Linked DNA regions of Homo sapiens: regions 1, 3, 4, 5, 6 and 7 are each linked to region 2. The links are contacts of gene promoters, found by promoter capture Hi-C in blood cells and fetal thymus (Javierre and others, 2016). All regions are on one chromosome and are shown on one strand. The core of a region is centred on a gene start or on the middle of the fragment in contact, and the rest is flanking DNA. Distances in the headings are between cores, read along the strand shown.

Region 1 (2,803 bases), core at 23-2,522, 200 kb after region 2:
TGAGAATTTTAAAAATGCAATTAAAATATCACTTTTTTGGCCGGGCACGGTGGCTCATGCCTGTAATCCCAGCACTTTGGGAGGCCGAGGCGGGTAGATCGCGAGGTCAAGAGATCGAGACCGTCCTGGCCAACATGGTGAAACCCTGTCTCTACTAAAAATACAAAAATTAGCTGAGCTTGGTGGTGCACGTCTGTAGTCCCAGCTACTCAGGAGGCTGAGGCAGAATTGCTTGAACCCGGGATGCGGGGGTTGCAGTGAGCCAAGATCACGCCACTGTACTCCAGCCTGGAGACAGAGCAAGACTCCGTCTTAAAAAAAAAAAATCACTTTTTAAAATCAAAGCAAAATTATTAATCGGTGACAATATGACTATCCTGTAAGGTTTGGTTAACATAAACAGTAAATTATTTATGAATACTTATTTCTCCATGGTCCCAAGAAAATACTGGACTTAAAATCAGGCTTATTAAAAGATGGACTGGCTGGGCACAGTGGCTCATGCCTGTAATCCCAGCATTTGGGAGGCTAAGGCAGGCAGATCGCTTGAGCCCAGGAGTTGGAGACCAGCCTGGGAAACATGGTGCCCAGAGACTCCGTCTCTACAAAAAATACAAAAATTAGCTGGGCATGGTAGTACACACCTATAGTCTCAGCTACTCAGGAGGTTGAGGTGGAAGGATCGATTGAGCCTAAGAAGTCAGGCTGTAGTGAGCTATGATTGTACCACTGCACTTCAGCCTGGGCGACAGAGTGAGACCCTGTCTCAAAAAAAGTTAAAAAAAAAAAAAAGGCATGGATGGTCGAGGATATCAACTGTAGCACCACCTGAAGAAGCCCCCAGCAGGTGCTGGTTGAATACATCAAGGCACAGCCATACAATCGAGCCTTCACAGCCATGAAAAGGATGGCACTGATATCTTATGTGCCAAAGTGAGAAGATCATACCCAGCCTTCATTTGACAGTTATGGAGTCCACTTTGGCACTCAAAGGCCAACAAATCAGACAAAGGAGCTGTCAATCTTGGGCCTTTACACAACTGATCTGCCTAGAAGTCTCTGCCCCCATCTTAGACCACCTTCTTGGTCATCCTAAATGGCGCTGTGCCATAGGGGCCTGCCCAGCAAACCCAATCTAAAGGGCCCCTACCACTCACTATATACCCGTTTTCATTCTCAGCACATCACATTTTCTTATTAATTTACTTGTTTGCTATCTGCCTCCCCACCGTCAGCTCCAGGAGAGCAGAAATCCCATCTGTCTTATTCATTGCTGTATTCCTAGAGCTTAAAACAATGCCTGTTAGAGAGTAGATGCTCAAAAGTATTTGCGAAATGAAAGAAAATTAGACAGCCTTAACAAAACAACAAAAATTCTTCAATAAGGCATAATGAAAAATCCATCAATCAGATTCTATATATATTATGAGGTTATTAAAAAAAAAGCAACCAGGCCGGGCACGTTGGCTCACTCCTATAATCCCAGCACTTTGGGAGGCTGAGATGGGCAGATCACCTGAGGTCAGGAGTTCGAGACCAGCCTGGCCAACATGGTGAAACCCTGTCTCTACTAAAAATAAAAATAAAATTAGCTGGGCATGGTCGCACACCTGTAATCCCAGCTAATCGGGAGGCTGAGTCGGGAGAATCACTTGAACCTGGGAGGCGGAGGCTGCAGTGAGCCAAGATCACACCACTGTACTCCAGCCTGGGCCACAGAGCGAGACTCTTGTCTCAAAAAAAAGCAACCTGCAATTCAAAGGATGTTTTAATATTTCATATACAACCAAATGCTCTCTTCTCTCTATATATTTTTTGAGACAGAATCTCTCTGTTGCCTAGGCTGGAGTGCAATGGCATGATCTCCGCTCACTGCAACCTCCGCTTCCCAGGTTCAAGTGATTCTTGTGCTTCAGCCTCGCGGGTAGCTGGGATTACAGGCGTGCGCCCCTACGCCCAGCTAATTTTTGTATTTTTAGTAGAGACAGGGTTTCACCATGTTGGCCAGGCTGGTCTCGAACTCCTGACCTCAGGTGATCCACCTGCTTTGGCATCCCAAAGTGCTGGGATTACAGGTGTGAGCCACCGTGCCCGGCCCAAATGCTCTATTTTTATTCAGAAAAACACTGGTTAACCTTAAGTTGGTTAAGTAAAATGCCTGCTTTTTTTCTATTCAGAATCTGAAATGTCCAATGCAAAGTCATTATAATTGATTGTAACAGTTAACTAAGCTATCCAATTCTACTATAAAAATCCTTGCTAGAGTTTTTTGTCTGTTAAAATTCACAGAGATTAAAAAAAAAAAATGCCAACGTCTGTGATGAGCCCAGGTATTCCACGTGCTCAGACCAGGGCCAGGCGCTGGGGCCAGGGGCCCAGAAAGAACTGGAACTATTGTGTTTTATACATGTCTGAAAACTGCACTTAATATCACATTTTACTCTTAGGGGAGGTGAGTTACCCCACATGGGAACTGCACTAGAAGGTGCTCTGGGCTCTGTTTTTTCTCTATGTTGACTAATACTATGAAAATAATTTTCCACATGTTTATATACTATCGAAATTCCATTACAGCTAACTTAAAAAGTTGTTTCCTTTGGTTCAATACAATATAAGAGAAAAGAAAGCAACCAGCCACTATCCATATTCCCTCACAATTTGGTTGCAATGTATAAAAACATCTTAAATGGGTTTGGTTTTCATTCACCCCTTCAACACTAACACTGAAGTTACCGTAACAAAATTCCCTTCAAGGAGATACACTCCTAGTCCTGCTCTTTCCACTCTAACAGTGCCTCATTTC
Region 2 (2,815 bases), core at 78-2,577:
GCAAGATCCCTCCTGAGTACCCCAAAGCATACTTTCTGCAGGAACTCTCCACTCTGTCCACACAAGCACAGTGGGGAAGTTTTGAGAACAAGTCATTTTTGGAATTAATGACTCTGCACAGATAGTTATAACCTTTCCTTCCCCCTAAAACGCAGTCACAAGGGCACTCCTAGGCTTACATGTCGAGCAAAACTTCTTGTTACTTTAATAAGGGAAGGATGCACACGATGAAAAACAGAAGCCCCCCCCCACCCCCCATCAGCACACATGAGAACAGGGTGGGGGCTTCCTTCTCTATTCAGCCACTAAGGTGCCCAAGTTTAATGGAAAAGGAAACTTAAAATATAAAGAATAAAAGTGGAAAGGGAACAGCCAGGGGAAGCTATAGATGCGGCTTATTAGGAAAGCTTGGGACAGAGATGGAACAGGTGGGCCTGTTCCGGAAGAAACGAGAGGAAGGGGATCTGGGGAAGAAGGCAGACTGGGTGGGTCCTACCCTGACAAAAGGGAAACTAAAGCTGAGGAAGAAGGGCCACGGAGAGGGAGGCGGGTACTGGGAAACGGAAGGCATGGCCCTAACACTCCAGGTGTTGAGAGGGATGCAAAGTAGCAGGATTTAAATGTGAACGGAGAAGGCAGATCCTTGAAGAGTGAAGGGGCAGAAAAGAGCTCAGCATCGCACTGGGGATTGAGGGATGTGGGTTCTAAGCACGAAGAGCCCCTGAGAAGGGGCGGACAAGGGGATGTCACCCTTGGGGGTCATGATTCCAGGCTGGGAAGTGGGGTAACAATTCGAGATGGTAAGGTGGGAGGTAGGCGAGTTTTAGACTGGCGTCTCAAAAGACAGACGTTTAAGGTGGAAAGGGGAAGGGTCACTCCTGTCTGGAGGCCACAGCGAGTAGGTGAGGGGCTCGGGCTACCCCTAGTGCAGGAATACCCAGCCTGGGTTTGCGGGGGAGGAGCAATTCGGGTCCCAAGGCCTGAACTCTCCGCGCAGGAGGGGCCCCCAGGGGGGCCGGGCCGCGGCTGCCGCGCAGGGCCTCCGGAGGGTCGGGGGGTCCCAGACTCACGCATTAACGTGCTGAAGGCCACGACGCCGAGCAGCCCCTGCAGGAAGATGCCGAAGCTGTGCATGAGCGCGCCGCTCTCGCAGCGGCCCGCCCCGGACGCGACTGTGGAGGGCGGCCCGCCTGGCAGTCCCCGGCTCGCGTTCCCGGCGGGGCCCTGCATGACAGGCCTCGCGGGAGGGGCGCGAGGGCCCAGGGCCCGCCCGGCCTCGCTGCCTGCCGGCGCAGCGCCGCCAAACCCGCAGCCGGGATCCCAAGCCTGAGCCGGTACCTCCGCCCGGCCGCCGACTCCGCGCCGCGCGTAACCCGACGTCTGAGATCGCAGTGCCTGATTGGCGCAGCCAAGGTTGGGGCGGGCCTCGGCCGCGGCAGCTCTCCCCACCCGCCCCCGAGGGGCGGGGCTCCGGCCGGGCCACGGGGCGGGGTCGCGGGTCCCGCTCCCCTCTCCAACCCCGCCACGCCCGCAGGTAGACAGGCCAGGTGAGCCGGCCACCGCAGACCGGAATGAGAGCCTGGGAATCACGAGCTCCAGGTCCGGAGGTAGGAGCTGGGACGGCCTGTGGTCAAATTATTTTTCCCTCTAAGGAAAATCCCTATATCCTGGAGAAATTATCATCATTCCTGAATTCCACCCTCAGAGATCGTGATTCAGTAGTTCTGGGGTGGGTCCCAATAGTTTGCAGCCTGGATTATTCTGAAGCAAGTGAATAAGGAAAACAATCTGAGACTGAGTACAGGAGTCTTCCCTCCAACCCAGACATTTGAGTCTTTTTCCTACTTCCCTAGCTAAAGGCTTATCAAGGCCCCAAGTCTATTTTCTTTTTTCATAGACATAATTTAAATGGTCACCTGAATCCAATCACTTTCATTTGGAAATATACCAGGTTTCACACTGAAAACCTGACGTGCACATGTCCCACCTTATTCACTTGGGGAGCACAACTACCTTTAGAGTGTAAAAGACAAATGGTTGGTATTTTCCAGGCTCCAACATCCCCCTGCACACACACACTCCCATCTAACCCTTTCCAACTTCTCAGAACCTGTGCTCTGCCTTTAACAAGACCCTGAGTCCCCATTCTCTCACCCATTCTCCCAGCCCAATCTGGGCTCTCTCTGGATACCTTCTTGTTGGTGCTCTAGAGCCGCTGACCTTCCTGCTGCAGAATGTCAGTGAACACATGGTGTAAGTCCAGTTGACACTCACCCATTCTCCCAGCCCAATCTGGGCTCTCTCTGGATACCTTCTTGTTGGTGCTCTAGAGCCGCTGACCTTCCTGCTGCAGAATGTCAGTGAACACATGGTGTAAGTCCAGTTGACACTCACCCATTCTCCCAGCCCAATCTGGGCTCTCTCTGGATACCTTCTTGTTGGTGCTCTAGAGCCGCTGACCTTCCTGCTGCAGAATGTCAGTGAACATATGGTGTAAGTCCAGTTGATACTGAGCTACGTGTTTTCAACGGTAAATATCATCTCTAGGAAAAAGTTTCCTATTAAATAGCCCCCCAAATTCCAATTACCTAAGAGGGTTATATGCTAGCTAAAAGCTTTCTTGGTGAACAGGAATATTAACCTGATTAGAGAATAAAAATGCAATTCTCCAGCCTTCTCTTACATTTTCACACCTCTGTGCCTTTATGTAGCATTCTAGCTGCATGGATGCCATTCCCTTTTCCCTGCTCCATGAACTGCTCCTCATGTGTCAAAGCCTTTCTGACCTCCCTCTCCCTCTTGCTCCCACATTACC
Region 3 (2,883 bases), core at 175-2,674, 160 kb before region 2:
CATCAGTGAGCTGTGGCACATATTTAAGGAGCCTAATATACATGTAATTGGAATCCCTAAGAGGGCAGGAAGAAGTCCAAAAAAAAAATGTGAAGAAATAATGGCCAGGCGGGGCGTGGTGGCTCACGCCTGTAATCCCAGCACTTTGGGAGGCCGAGGTGGGCAGATCACGAGGTCAGGAGATCGAGACCATCCTGGCTAACACGGTGAAACGCCATCTCTACTAAAAAAATACAAAAAACTAGCCGGGCATGGTGGCGGACGCCTGTGGTCCCAGCTACTTGGGAGGCTGAGTCAGGAGAACGGTGTGAACCCGGGAGGCGGAGCTTGCAGTGAGCGGAGATTGTGCCACTGCACTCCAGCCTGGGCAACAAGAGCGAAACTCCGTCTCAAAAAAAAAAAAAAAAAAAAAAGAAGAGACACTTTTAGCTCCAGCATATGCCACAAACCATTTATAATTTTATCAGTGGGAATACTAGAGATCTAAATACTACTGAAAATGCACATTTAATATTCATTAAAACAGAAATAGTTTATAAAGGGAGACAGAAAAACAAGAACTTACCCTTCCCCGTAATCCCCATCTGACTTATCAGTTGAACTTGTAGAAGAACTTAACTCATCCTCAGACAGACAATGAATCTGTTTCCTTTCCTATTAAATGTTTGGAAGAATTAAAATTCTACATGACAACACAACCAGAATGTGATACTTGAACCAGTCTTAGATGCAACAACTAGACACAATACGTTCCTAGGTGCAATATAACAGGAGAATCTAACAAATACAAAAATTGTTCCCATATGATTTGTGGCAAAAAGAAAAAAACATTGAAGTGATTTTACCCGTGATATCCCAGTTCACTCATAAAGTCCACAAGAATAACTGAAGAACATCAGATGAAGTTTTTTATTTTGTTTGTTTTTTTTTTGTTTTGATTTTTGTGTTTTTTTGAGACAGAGTCTTGCTCTGTCGCCAGGCTAGAGTGCAGTGGCACGATCTCGGCTCACAGCAACTTCCGACTCTCTGGTTCAAGTGATTTTCCTGCCTCAGCCTCCCGAGTAGCTGGGATTACAGGCACGTGCCGCAACGCCCAGCTAATTTTTGTATTTTTAGTAGAGACAGGGTTTCACCATGTTGGCCAGGCTGGTCTCCAACTCTTGACCTCATGATCCGCCTGCCTCAGCCTCCCAAAGTGCCGGGATTACAGGCATGAGCTACCGCGCCTGCCCAAGGTGAAGTTTTACAAAGGTCCTGGAGAGTCTCAGCTGTGAAGAAATTTCCAGAGGACAGTGGATGGCTAGTTCTGGTTTATCAACTCCTAAGCAGAAGGCTTGTTCTATAGGAATGTTGGCATTTTAAATTACCTAGGCAAACTCAGCTTGTCTTTTTTTTTTTCTTTTTTTTGGATACAGGGGTGTCACTATGTTGTCCAGGCTGGCCACAAACTCCTGGGCTCAAGCAATCCTCCTTCCTTGGCCTCCCAAGTAGCTGAGATAACACCCACAAGCCACCATGCCCAGCTTCAGCTTGCTCTTAATGTGAGACTGTTAAAGTGCTTTAAAGGATCACCTAAAAATACACATAAACCTTACAACTCTGAGATATGGAAGGCAGCCTCTATTAGTGAAATAACTAAATGATATAGTTAAAGAAATAATACATCCAATACTTTCAAAGAACAGGAAGAATTCCCAGAGTATTATACAGAGAGGTGAACATGGGTTAGAAACCTAGTAATTACCCATTTAGCCACCAGATGGTGTCCCTACATCATCTACAGGCAAGAAGGTAAACTACATTGACACAAATAAGAAACTGAGGAATGATTAGCAAGTGAGACTCAAATCTGGCGACACAGATGGGTATGTTGGTATCACAGCAGATTGAGCAAAGTGCTGCCTAGTGCAAGCCCTTAGAAAGTTCTGTTATTTATTTACTTATTTATTTATTTATATTTTTGAGACAGAGTCTTGCTCTGTCACCTAGGCTAAAGCACAGTGGTGTGAACACAACTCACTGTAGCCTCAACCTCTTGGGCTCAAGTGATCCTTCCACCTCAGCCTCCCGAGTGGCTGGGACTACAGGTGTGCGCCACCTTGCCAGGTAATTTTTTTTTCTTAGAGACAGGGTCCAACTATATTGCCCAGATTGATCTCAAACTCCTGGGCTAAAGCAATCTTCTCACCTTGGCCTCCCAAAGTGCTAGTATTATAAGCGTGAGCCACTGCATCAGGCCAGGAAGTCCTGTTAAGACCAACCTATGAAATATTTTTAATTAGGCTATCAATTGTTTACAAGAGTACCTGAAAAATTTATTCCCTTAATGGGTCAATCATAATCCTTTTGACTATTATTTACCAGTTCCTTTCTTTATCAAGAGTGAAAAGATATAACAAGCTGGCCCTGTCCCAAAAATAAATGGAGCTGACATTTAAAAGGTTTACTGCATTAGGCCTGCCAGATGTAGACTGTCCACCTTCTCTCTTAGGAGTACGTAATGCACCTGAGTGACGCTGCAGTCAGAGGAGAGCCGTCGGGCAGGCAAGGGCTGGTCTTCTTCCTGGGGTTTTCCTGGCCCTGCTACACTCAGAGACGCTTTCCTCACTGAAGGGCCTGAAAAGGCAAACATCCCCAGTAGTTGTTTGTGGTGGGCTGCCCCAGTTGAAAAGGGCTTTGTATTTGGTATGGAACATACCCCAGCAGGAGCTAGCCCAAAAGTAAGTCAAACAGCATATTTATCATTTCTCTGGTGTCTGACACCTCAGTTGAAATCTTAGCTCTAGGTCCACCAGCTCTGTGACCTTGGGCAAGTTACTTAACTCCTCAGAGCCTCTGTTTCCTTAGCTGCAAAATGAGGATAATGCTGCATATTTTGGCAGT
Region 4 (2,769 bases), core at 203-2,702, 160 kb after region 2:
ACCTGATGCCACATTTTTTTTTTGAGACGGAGTTTTGCTCTTGTTGCCCAGTCCGGAGTGTAATGGCGTGATCTCAGCTCACCGCAACCTCCGCCTCCCAGGTTCAAGGGATTCTCCTGCCTCAGCCTCCCGAGTAGGTGGGATTACAGGCATGCGCCACCACACCCCGCTAATTTTTTGTATTTTTAGTAGAGACGAGGTTTCACCACATTGTCCAGGCTGGTCTTGAACTCCTAACTTCAGGTGATCCGCCTGCCTTGGCCTCCCAAAGTGCTGGGATTACAAGCGTGAGCCACCACAACTGGCCCCCTGGTGCCACTTTTTAAAAATCTTGCATAACTCCACAGTTCTCAAAATAGCTAATGAAGAAACCATGTCTCCAATAATTTCGATACAAGCTGTAAGTGCCTTAAAAATTTCAGCTCTGGCATTACTTCTATTTAAAAGTGTCAAGATAAAAGTTCACTGAAACATCTGCTGCCACTATTACTTTAGGAATCTGTATCCATTTAGGGATTTTTTTCTTCTAGAGTATTATAGCCAGTTTGTCAATAAAAAGTAGCATTCAGTATGCTTAACTTTCACTATCAAAAAATGATCTGCTAAGAAGTGACAGTTGGATTTAATCCAAGAAGTCCTTGTTTTCTATTTTACAAGAACTCAACTTTCCCAATTAAGTTGTTAGTCATTAAGATAGGTACCCTTTCCAAAAGTGATTCAACAGCCTGGTTTTTAGCAAATAAAAACTCCATATAAAATTCAATTTAAAAAATTAAACATAAGCACACAGGAGGCCAGGCGCGGTGGCTCACGCCTGTAATCCTAGCACTTTGGGAGGCCAAGGTGGGTGGATCACCTGAGGTCAGGAGTTTGAGACCAGCCTGGCCAACATGGTGAAACTCCGTCTCTACTAAAAATACAAAAATTAGCTGGGTGTGATGGTGCACGCCTGTAATCCCAGCTAATCGGGAGGCTGAGGAAGAAGAATTGCTTGAACCTGGGAGGTGGAGGTTGCAGTGAGCCGAGATGGCACCATTGCACTCCAGCCTGGGCGACAGGAGCGAGACTCCATCACAAAAAAAAGCACACAAGGATGTGCACACAGTTCAGAAACCAGGAAACGCGTGACGATAAACAGGATCCTATTTGATTGTCTTTATGACTTTTAAGAAGTGAGCATGACGCTGGTGCAGTGGCTCACGCCTGTAATCCCAGCACTTTGGGAGGCCGAGGTGGGTGGATCACCTGAGGTCAGGAGTTCAAGACCAGTCTGGCCAAAATGGTGAAACCCCGTCTCTACTAAAAATACAAAAATTAGCTGGGCGTGGTGGCATGTACTCCCAGCTACTTGGGAGGCTGAGGCAAGAGAATTGCTTGAACCTGGGAGGCGGAGATTGCAGTGAGCTGAGATCGCACCACTGCACTCCAGCCTGGGTGACAGAGCGAGACTCCATCTCAAAAAAAAAAAAAAAAAGAAGTGAGCATGAAAATAAATCTTTATTTTCAGTTATTACCCACCAGTAAGAGAAAGGTTCACAATTTTAGCTCTTGATACAAAGTGAACTAGGAGGCAAATTTATATCCATCAGATACAACTAATGGACCAACTTTTTAAGTTCTGGCTATCTTGAAAACTTGCAACATACCAGGTATTGCTGTGTTGTCTCTCAAGATAGCAATGAGTGACACTGCGTAGAAGTTGTGAAGTGTTTTTAATAGCAGGTGTTTTCTATAATATGCTGCTGGAAATCAGAGGTTTATAAACATGGTACATGTTCAGAAATGAGTTAGATACTTGAAAAATCTAAACACACTGATTTAGGAGTGTGTATGTTGCAGTCTTAAGAGGGGTCAATAGTCCTTACGGACTAAATTAATCTCTGGGTAGCAGGTATATTAGACATTAGCATCAGTGCAGAACATGCTCAGCATAAGATCCAAAACACCAGCACAAGTTTATCCATCATTAAAAACAATTACCTCCTTCCTAAAATATCAGAATAGTAGGTAACTGAGATTAATAAATCTAATCCAAATAAGTAACTCTTGTAATGCACAATTTCCCTTTTAGAAGTATATGTGAGAACCAATCAGCTAAATAGAAATGTTTAAGATTGAAGATGTCCAATATTTTTAAAACTGGACATTACCATATACAGGTAGAACATTTCTAAAAATGAAGTGACGAACGATTCTTAAAACTTTTTTAAAAATTCCTTCCCTGTTTAACAATAAATGTGGCAGAATAAAAGACAATCCTAGAAAACTTTTCTTATTCATCATTCTCTCCATGGATGTTTTAATACGTGGTGATGCTCCCATTAAAGGAATCCATTATTAACCTAATTTTCTAATGGAGGAAGAGGGAGAAGATAATTATTACTTTCTGTGGAACAAATACTCAACTTAGGACCAAATAATAACAATCTAGGAAATTTAGAAACAGTAAAGATTTTCGGTTTATATTTAATGGATGGTGCTGCTGTTCTAACCTTATAAAGTAAAGCTGTCTGCTTCCCAAATTCCAAAAATTAAAATACTCCCCAACCTCATCCTACCAACCAGTGCCCTTTAGATTTTTTTGCTTGTTTTAGAACAAGGAAGGTTTAAATGGTTGCTGATTATGGATATACCATTTTGATTTTAGGATCTTTCACACACAGAAATCATACCAAATGGCCAGACACTTACTGTATAGAACACTTTAAATATTACACATTGGCCAAATCAACTTATTCCACCCACCCTGGTGGAGGCGGGGCGGGGAAA
Region 5 (2,887 bases), core at 342-2,841, 180 kb after region 2:
GCGAGGCTGGGGCTGAGAGGCGGTGAAGTTCACTCTCAGGGTTCATCAGCAGGCAAAATGGAGAAGGAGACCAGGCTCTTGGAGGACTCTGTGTCAGGATATTCACTTAACAGTTTACAACATAGAAAGTGCTGGGAATAACCTGCAATGGCATATTATAGTAAAAAAGGATGCTGTGCAGGACAGTGTGAGCACGGCACAGGTGCGTACCACGGGCAAAGTCAGGACTGGCCTCGGGCAGGACATGGACCCAGTGTTTCTGTGACTTTCTGCAGGGCACTGGTTGCCCTCAGGATAATTTGTAATTAAATAGCAAGAAATACATAAAATACATAATATCAGGAGATAAAATCACTTATCAGGAAAAATAACACATGGTATAGAATATTTTAAACTTGGCCAGGCACAGTGGCTCACGCCTGTAATCCCAGTACTTTAGGAGGTCGAGGTGGGAGGATCAAGAGTGTGAGACTAGCCTGGGCAACATAGTGAGACCCCATCTCTACTAATAATTTTTAAAAAATTAGTCGGGTATGGTGGCTCATGCCTGTGGTCCCAGCTACTCCAGAGGCTGAGGCTAGAGGATCACTTGAGCCCTGGAGATTGAGGCTGCAGTAAGCTATGATTGCATCACTGCACTCCAGCCCAGGCAGCAGCTCCAGATCCTGTTTCAAAAAAAGGAATATTTTAATCTCCACCGTGACCTCTGTGCTGGACTAGCTCCCCTGCAGGACCCAGGCTCCAGCCTTGGTATGCACAGGCCCACTGGCTCTCCAACTCTCCATTCCACCCCAAAGAACTGCTGAACCCCAACTTTTCCTTGGCCCCACAATGGCCCTGGAGCAAGAGTGAGCAGGGATTATTAGAACCTTCTGCAGATGGAGAAAAGGCAAAGCTACCTGCTAGATCTCACAAGGAGTAAAAGGCAGGGCTGGGATCGGAATACAGTTCCGGGCTCTCCAGCTCTGTTGATTGTCTGGATCAACAGCAGGTCCTCTGGCCCAGTGGGCAGTGGGGATGTGGTAAAACATCATTTCCAAGCTTCAAAGGCAACCAGGACTCCTGCACAGTTGAAGGGAATGTCCCACAGACGCTGATAGAAATGAGGGAGGCCTTTAGCAGTGGGCTGTCGGATCAGAACCAGGTACACTCAGGTCACGGCTCTTTGACAATGAGAAGGAGGAAGAGGAAGGCCTGATGGATCCCCACTACTCAGATATGACCCACACCCCAAATGTCCATGGCCTCACACCTTCCCCAAGGATCAGCGCTGGGCCCAGACACATCTGGTGTCTCCCTGATGTCCACAAGTCTGTAGGCAGAACACTCTTCCCTTCCCAGGAAAACTCCACCTTATCAATAGTGTTCAGGACAGCACCCTAGGCTGGGCACAGTGGCTCACATGTGTAATCCCAGCACTTTGGGAGGCTGAGACGAGTGGATCACCTGAGGTCAGGAGTTCGAGACCAGTCTGGCCAACAGGGCAAAACCCTGTCTCTAGTAAAAATAGAAAAATTAGCTGGGCATGGTGGTGGGCGCCTGTAATCCCAGCTACTTGAGAGGCTGAGGCAGGAGAATCGCAGAGGTTGCAGTGAGCCTAGATCGCACTACTGCACACCAGCCTGGGCAACAGACCACGACTCTGTCAAAAGAAAAAGACAGCACCCTCTGGGCATCCTAAATTCAAAGCTGCTTCTGGCAGGAGAAACCAGTCCATCTTAACCTGGCATCCTACATCCCAGTGAAGTAAAAAAAACAACAAAGCAAATCAGTGTTTGCAACAAAACAAAACTCAGCAAGTTTCTGGATCAGCCTGTGATGAGTGGGTTCAAGGTGAGGACATTGGCAATTGGTGGGTGAGGCCATGTGGGGGTGCAGGGGTGTCCTCGTGGGCCACCGTGGCCCGGGCCTTGGAAAGCCGAGACCAGGAGAGCTCATGCCTGTGGCCACCCAACACATGGCAGGGCCCATTCATGCCTTTCCACTTTCTTCAGAAACTGCCACAGCAGCTGTCCCTCCCTGGACAAAGCCACCTTCTTTCCTGACGCCAGGGCCCCATTTTCTTTCTGTCTTAATCTAAGGCTGATGGGAAATATAAACAACTAGCTGAGGCAATTTCTGAAATTGGTGGAAATCATTTAACAAGCTTCTGGAGCATCCCTTCTTGTCCTGGGGAGGTGTGCGGAATGTGTGTCTGAAAGAGCATTTGCTGGCAGCCATGGCGTTTCTTCCCCGGGCCTAGTCACTGGGGTTTCCAAGGCTAAGGACACCTCAAATCCACATCCAGATGCCTGGCTCTGCACAGTCTCCCTGCCTGACACCCTTACCCGCCAAAGCTCCTGCAGGGCCAGCTGGGCCTAAAAGCAGTTTTCGTTTCTTCTTCACCTGCAGCTTCGTCTTTCAGGAGAGGGTAAAGCAATGTTTCCATTGGAATTTTAAAAGATGCTCCACCACCACGTGCACTTCTGTGGACTGGGGTTAGGTGGGAGGAGGAAGCAGTAGTGGGGAAACAAACGATTCCAGGGACCACAGTCCCTCTGTAACCTTGTGTTGGGCAGATTTAAAATTCCACTCGTTCAAGTCCACTAGGCTAGAGCTAGGCATCCCTGTCTAGTGCTTTACCTACCTCCTCTCACTCCTTACTACACCCTATGAGGCAAGTGCTATTGTGCCCATTTTTAGATGAGTAAACTGAGGCACAGGGGGATCAAGCACTTTGCTCAAAGATTCACAGCTTGAAGGGGGTAGGGTAGCAGGGTAGCTGGGCTGGGTCCAGTGACTAGGCCTGGGGAAGCAAAGCCACAGCTGCCTCAAAGCCCTCTCTGGACACGTTTCCCTCCCCGCCAAACTCCTGGCCCCACCACACACACCTGCCTTTCTAATTCTC
Region 6 (2,749 bases), core at 51-2,550, 220 kb after region 2:
TCTCTCTCTCACACTGCTCCTCACCCCTTGCCATGCTGTGGTGGTCCTCCCAGGGGTCAGCAAAGCAGGACCTGTCCCCTTTTAAAAGGAAACGAAGGCTGCTGCTTGTCATGAGGCTCTCGTGATGCCTGTTTGCCTGCAGGTTGTGAATGGATTTGGGAAGATGATTGAGCTCTTTAAAGACAAAGTTCTTTGGGAGAATGAGATCATGATGGTGTACCTAATCTGAGAGCTCATACTTGATTTTCCTAATGCCTTTGGTTTAAATGGGCCTGTGGTTCAGAAGGAATGGTGACACCACTTACTAAAAGTGCTCATTAAGGACACAGAGGCAGGAAATCCAATCTGAGATGCGGCTTCTGCAGGCAGGGGCTGAGTGGTGGGAGAGAGGAAGCATATGGTGGACTGTTACCATTCTATTCAGAATGGAGGTTCAGAATGGAGGTGTCACTTGGGGCGGTCAAAAGAGGCCTATTTCACAATAGCTGGGTTGGTACTGATGAGCTGATCTAAATAGCCAGGAATTTCCCTGGAATACCCTGACCAACAAGCCATTCCACTGCCCTCACTGTACTAACGGAGAAATGGCGGCTAAGGTGGTAAAAGGTGATGGATGGTAACTCCAGGGAAGGTCTGGAATCAGAACTCAGAGGCTCATCACACTTTCACCTGAGTCACTCGTCCACTTCCCAAACTCTTCTGACTCAGGATGATATGATCAGCCACATCCTTACCACAATGACAAGAGTCACTGGTGAGTGTGGGGCTACCATCCTGTCCACTGCCCTCTGTCACCTCCTCCACCCTACAGAGCACTCCTTCCTCTCCCTCTTGCTCCACCTATCCCAGTCACTCTGGGGCTATTGATGCTGCCCCAGCTTTATCCATCCTCCCACTTTCATCCATCCTCCCCCTGTCCTTACTCCTCACCTGGACAATTGCCACAGGCTCCCAATGAGCTTTTTTTGCTTCTTACTCTTTCTCTAGCCTATCCTTCTCATTGCAGGTTCAGGCTTTGGAGTCAAGCTTGGAGATTGGGGCTCGACCTGCAGTTCCTTGAATTATTAGTGTAAATGTCGCCGTGAACAAGATACTTAATTTTGCTAAGCCTTGGCTTTCTCATCTGCAAAATGGGATAAGAAGTCCTGTCTCATGGAGCCAGTATGAGGACTGAATGAAAAAAAATAAGACACTATAACTCTGTAAGAGACGGCAAGCTCCTCAATACAGACAGTTTGATCATGGTGCTGTTCAAAAACCTTTCATTAGGCTCCACTGCCCCTGAATTAAACCCAAGCTCCATAGCACTGAGGCCACTGCCACCTGACCCTAGCCTGGCAGCCAGGTTTACTTCCCTTCATAACTTCCCGCCACCTTTTCCTTTCTCTCCCTTCCCCCATTTTCCAGCCAACCTAAGTACCCCAGTCATCTCTACATTCCCAATTCCAACACAATGATGGGCAGGTAACAAGCACTGAGCAAATTTTCTTTCCTTCTGTGGTCACGAATGCCCATCTCTACCACACATATACATTTAACCTCTGCCCACCCATGTGTCAAAGTCCAGCACAAAAGAAGCTTCCTCCGTGAAGCCTTCCTTGATGTTCCTAGATGGAATTCAGCAGTCCTTCCTCTGTGCTTCTATTTTGATAACGCTAGACACACACTGTCCTATAGCATAGTTGAGTACAGATCCTATCTCTCCATCACCATGCAAGTTCTGAGGGTAGGGGCCTCACTCAGGGCACCTGGTACAGTGCCTAACATATAATAATGTTTAATACATGCTTGCTGAGTCAAATTCCTCAGCTTTACTTAAATATTAGCATATCTCTCATATTAAATCCCTCAGAAATGTCAATGAATATAAACGGAAGCCATTATTTGAAGTATCATTAATTTATTATAAGGTTAAATAAGCATCTTTAAAGAAGATGGAATTCTACAAGAACAGGAAGGGAAATCTTACAATTAAGTCAAATTGATAGTAAATATAATTATTTGACCAGCTTCCATTAAGGAAGTCCCCAGTGCAGAAAGCTGCTCTGGGGAGTCAAGTCAGGCATGCTGCTCATGGTAAAGTCATACACTGCGTTCATGCATTCAGAATCATCTCATTTCTTTTTTTTTTTTTTTTTTTTGAGACAGGGTTTCACTCTGTCGCCCAGGCTAAAGTGCAGTAGCATGAACACAGCTTACTGTAGCCTCAGTCTCCAGGGCTCAAGTGATCCTCCTGCCTCAGCCTCCAGAGTAGCTGGGATCACAGGCATGTGCCACCATGCCCAGCTAAATTTTACATGTTTTGTAAAGACGGGTTCTTACCATGTTTCCCAGGCTGGTCTCAAACTCCTGGGCTCAAGCAATCCTCCCACTTCGGTCTCCCAAAGTGCTGGGATTACAGGCTTGAGCCACCACACCCAGCCTCTTTTTTTCTTTCTCTTTTTTTTTTGAGACAGAGTCTTGCTCTGTTGCCCAGGCTAGAGTGTAGTGGTGCGATCTCAGCTCACTGCAACCTCCACCTCCTGGGTTCAAGCAGTTCTCCTGCCTCAGCCTCCCAAGTAGCTGGGATTACAGGCGCATGCCACCATGCCCAGCTAACTGTTTTGTATTTTTAGTAGAGACGGGGTTTCACCATGTGGGCCAGGCTGGTTTCCAACTCCTGACCTCAAGTGATCTGCCCGCTCAGCCTCCCAAAGTGCTGGGATTACAGGTGTGAGCCACCATGCCCGGGCTTCTTTTTAAAATAATA
Region 7 (2,700 bases), core at 133-2,632, 140 kb after region 2:
AGAAAGCCAAAAACAGGAGTAAAAGTCAATGGCTAGGAGAGGAGCTAGGGTGAGGGCAGTTGTGTCTTACCGCCCTGACTGGCTGCGGGATCATGCAGCCCTCCTCAAGCACTTGCTGCAGAAAAGGAAGACTCTCCCTAGAAGGGGAGGCCAGAAGAGACCACCCAGCCCTCTGCTTCCCTTGTCATAGCCATTCCTGAGAATGGAGCCTGACAACAAAGAAAGTCATTTGAAGCTCTTCTCTGTTGATTGAGGAGCCCAATTGAATACTTACAGGAAAACTGGGTACAGATAATGCCTAGGAGAAGATCTAAGCCTGTTTCCCAATTTGCATATGGTGTTATTCATATTAACGATAAAGAAAACTACGTATTTTTAAGTGCAACTATAACTTGATTGAGGACTGGAAAGCCAACATTAAAAGAGAAATAAAATTAAATTAATATTAATTACATTAAGAGATCAAGGGATTCAGATGTTTTAATACCATCATAAACACCTATAACAACAATAATACACCCGAAGTTTCTCAAATTTCTATCTTTAGCTAGACCACCCAACCCTGCTCATTTTGCTCAATGATAAAAATGAAAACCAGGCTGGGCATAGTGGCTCATGCCTGTAATCCCAGCACTTTGGGAAGCTGAGGCTAGAGAATCACTTGAGGCCAGAAGTTTTGAGACCAGGTTGGACAACACTGAGAGACCCCATCTCTACAAAAAATGTTTTAAAGGCCCGGCGCAGTGGCTCACACCTGTAATCTCAGCACTTTAGGAGGCCAAGGCGGATGGATCGCCTGAGGTCAGGGGTTCAAGACCAGCCTGGCCAACATGATGAAACCCTGTCTCTACCAAAAAATACAAAAAATTAGCCAGGCATGGTGGCAGGCACCTGTAATCCCAGCTACTCGGGAGGCTGAGGTAGTAGAATCACTTGAAACCAGGAGGCGGAGGTGGCCAAGATTGCACCGCTGCACTCCAGCCTGGGCAACAAGAGCAAAACTTTGTCTCAAAAAAAAAATGTTTTAAAAAATTAGCCAGGTGCTGGGGCATGCACCTGTAGTCCTAGCTACTCAGGAGGCTGAGGCAGGAGAAGTGCTTGAGCCCAGGCACTCCAGTTTAGACAACTGTCTCCTACCCTGTATCTCCTCCCCTAACCATTGACTTTTACTACCGTGGCTCTATGCTCTATTAGACAACATCATGCCAAAGAAACTGATACTTTCTCAGAAAAGCCTTACTAACTCTAGGAAACAACTAACCATTCTTAAGAATTGAATAGTAACACAACGCACAATAAAAATCAGGCTTCATGACATTTACTGTCTATTCTTCAATGGTTTCCAGAAAGTCAAAAACATCCTTGCCATGAAGAAAGGACAGTAATTAAGAGATGGCCTCCCCCCGGTAACAAACAGTATTAGGAAACTCATCCCACATTTACTACATTAATACAGCCATTAAAAATAATAATGGAGGAAAATATAACTCTTTAACCATTCTGAAAGTACATACCTGCTCAACTCTCTATTACCCTTAACTGTCAAACCTGCTTTCTCTCCAACCAGGATTGGACATCTATATTTCACAAATACAGAATTAAAGTGATACAGCAAATCTAAAATACAAAGCATTAATTAGGTGGTATCATTATTATGTAAGTCATTAAGCCTTTTTAAACACGTACTAGTTTTCTATCAATACAGAAACAAGAGTGAAATATGGCAAAACCTCAACTAACCAGAACAGCTGGGGATTGAGTCACTGAATATGCCTTTCAGATAGGTGAAGGCTTATTTACAATTCTGAACACACATATTTTTTTGGTTAACTGTTCTGGACGACATGCTTTGACACAGGCCCACACCACGAATGTCAGTGATCACACAGTAAGATGGCATCCTGAGACCCAAAAGGCCTTACTCCTTACTCAATGTTACCCTGGACTCCTGCAACCTTTGCTTTTATGTTCTCCTTGTCTTCCACCCTGCTGTCACAATCTGCTCTGTTTCTTTTGTTCGAATAAGCAAGTGTGCCCAAACTGTATCTAAGGACAAGGTACCTGGTTCTCTAGGCTCTGCTGGGCACATACGGAGTTCTTCCAAGGGAGGTAAACAAATCCTAGCAAACAGTATTCTGTGACCTGACCTCCACTTTACCTGCTGTGGAAGTCTTTCAAATAATTTACTTCCTCAAAAAAAATTCTGACACATGCTACAACATGGATGAACCTTAAAGACATTATGTTAAGTGAATTAAGGCAATCACAAAAGGATAAATACTGTATGATTCCACTTAGATGAAGTACCTAGAATAGTCAAAATCATAAAGACAGAAAGTAGAACAGTGGTTGTCTAGGGTGGGAGGAGGGGAGTTGGGGAATCCCTGTTTCATGGGTACAGAGTTCCAGTCTGGGAAGATTAAAAAAGTTCTAGAGATGGATGGTGGTAATGGTTACACAACAATGTCAATGTACTTAATGCCACTGACCTGTACGTGTAAAAGTGGTTAAAATGGTACAATTCATGCTATATGTATATAACTTACCACAACCATACGTTTACAGAGTCTCTCTCTGTTGCCCAAGCTGGAGTGCAGTGATGTCATCTCAGCTCACTGCAACCCCCACCTCCTGGGTTCAAGCAATTCTCCTGCCTCAGCTTCCCAAGCAGCTGGGACTACAGGTGTCCGCCACCACACC

Evidence for each region. The method cuts DNA at HindIII sites, captures the fragments that hold promoters and counts their contacts. A CHiCAGO score of 5 or more calls a contact.
Region 1: a fragment that was not itself captured here is called in contact with the fragment with the promoter of STIMATE in region 2 in 2 of 17 cell types (M1 macrophages and naive CD8 T cells); the score reaches 5.7 in M1 macrophages.
Region 3: a fragment that was not itself captured here is called in contact with the fragment with the promoter of STIMATE in region 2 in 3 of 17 cell types (M2 macrophages, M1 macrophages and M0 macrophages); the score reaches 8.4 in M2 macrophages.
Region 4: a fragment that was not itself captured here is called in contact with the fragment with the promoter of STIMATE in region 2 in 6 of 17 cell types (naive CD4 T cells, naive CD8 T cells, M1 macrophages and 3 more); the score reaches 7.7 in naive CD4 T cells.
Region 5: a fragment that was not itself captured here is called in contact with the fragment with the promoter of STIMATE in region 2 in 15 of 17 cell types (naive B cells, non-activated CD4 T cells, M0 macrophages and 12 more); the score reaches 9.7 in naive B cells.
Region 6: a fragment that was not itself captured here is called in contact with the fragment with the promoter of STIMATE in region 2 in 1 of 17 cell types (naive CD4 T cells); the score reaches 5.3 in naive CD4 T cells.
Region 7: a contact is called between a fragment that was not itself captured here and the fragment with the promoter of STIMATE in region 2, in 6 of 17 cell types (total B cells, naive CD8 T cells, non-activated CD4 T cells and 3 more). The highest score is 7.0, in total B cells.

Annotation. Positions count from the first base shown.
Region 1 is chr3:53,094,948-53,097,750 of GRCh38, forward strand. The region is part of intron 11 of RFT1 (RFT1 glycolipid translocator homolog); the gene reads right to left. Among named protein-coding and RNA genes, the nearest start is that of RFT1, 34 kb to the right of the region's middle. The HindIII fragment of the contact is 6,189 bases long and covers 1-2,803 here.
Region 2 is chr3:52,896,221-52,899,035 of GRCh38, forward strand. STIMATE (STIM activating enhancer) reads right to left here and starts at 1,328. Exons shown (of 8, transcript NM_198563.5): 1 at 1,071-1,328. The coding sequence starts at 1,230. It overlaps STIMATE-MUSTN1 (STIMATE-MUSTN1 readthrough), which reads right to left and starts at 1,328. Exons shown (of 10, transcript NM_001198974.3): 1 at 1,071-1,328. The coding sequence starts at 1,230. RefSeq lists a silencer at 881-1,590. The HindIII fragment of the contact is 2,208 bases long and covers 406-2,613 here.
Region 3 is chr3:52,740,846-52,743,728 of GRCh38, forward strand. NEK4 (NIMA related kinase 4) reads right to left here. Exons shown (of 16, transcript NM_003157.6): 12 at 2,507-2,616; 13 at 566-654. Among named protein-coding and RNA genes, the nearest start is that of NEK4, 29 kb to the right of the region's middle. The HindIII fragment of the contact is 6,871 bases long and covers 1-2,883 here.
Region 4 is chr3:53,060,350-53,063,118 of GRCh38, forward strand. It overlaps the pseudogene SERBP1P3. Among named protein-coding and RNA genes, the nearest start is that of SFMBT1, 16 kb to the left of the region's middle. The HindIII fragment of the contact is 4,855 bases long and covers 1-2,769 here.
Region 5 is chr3:53,078,070-53,080,956 of GRCh38, forward strand. It overlaps a transcript of RFT1 not described here. Among named protein-coding and RNA genes, the nearest start is that of SFMBT1, 33 kb to the left of the region's middle. The HindIII fragment of the contact is 1,105 bases long and covers 1,040-2,144 here.
Region 6 is chr3:53,114,171-53,116,919 of GRCh38, forward strand. All of the region lies in intron 6 of RFT1 (RFT1 glycolipid translocator homolog), which reads right to left. Among named protein-coding and RNA genes, the nearest start is that of RFT1, 15 kb to the right of the region's middle. RefSeq lists an enhancer at 164-1,363. The HindIII fragment of the contact is 552 bases long and covers 1,025-1,576 here.
Region 7 is chr3:53,037,095-53,039,794 of GRCh38, forward strand. All of the region lies in intron 1 of SFMBT1 (Scm like with four mbt domains 1), which reads right to left. Among named protein-coding and RNA genes, the nearest start is that of SFMBT1, 7.6 kb to the right of the region's middle. The HindIII fragment of the contact is 9,921 bases long and covers 1-2,700 here.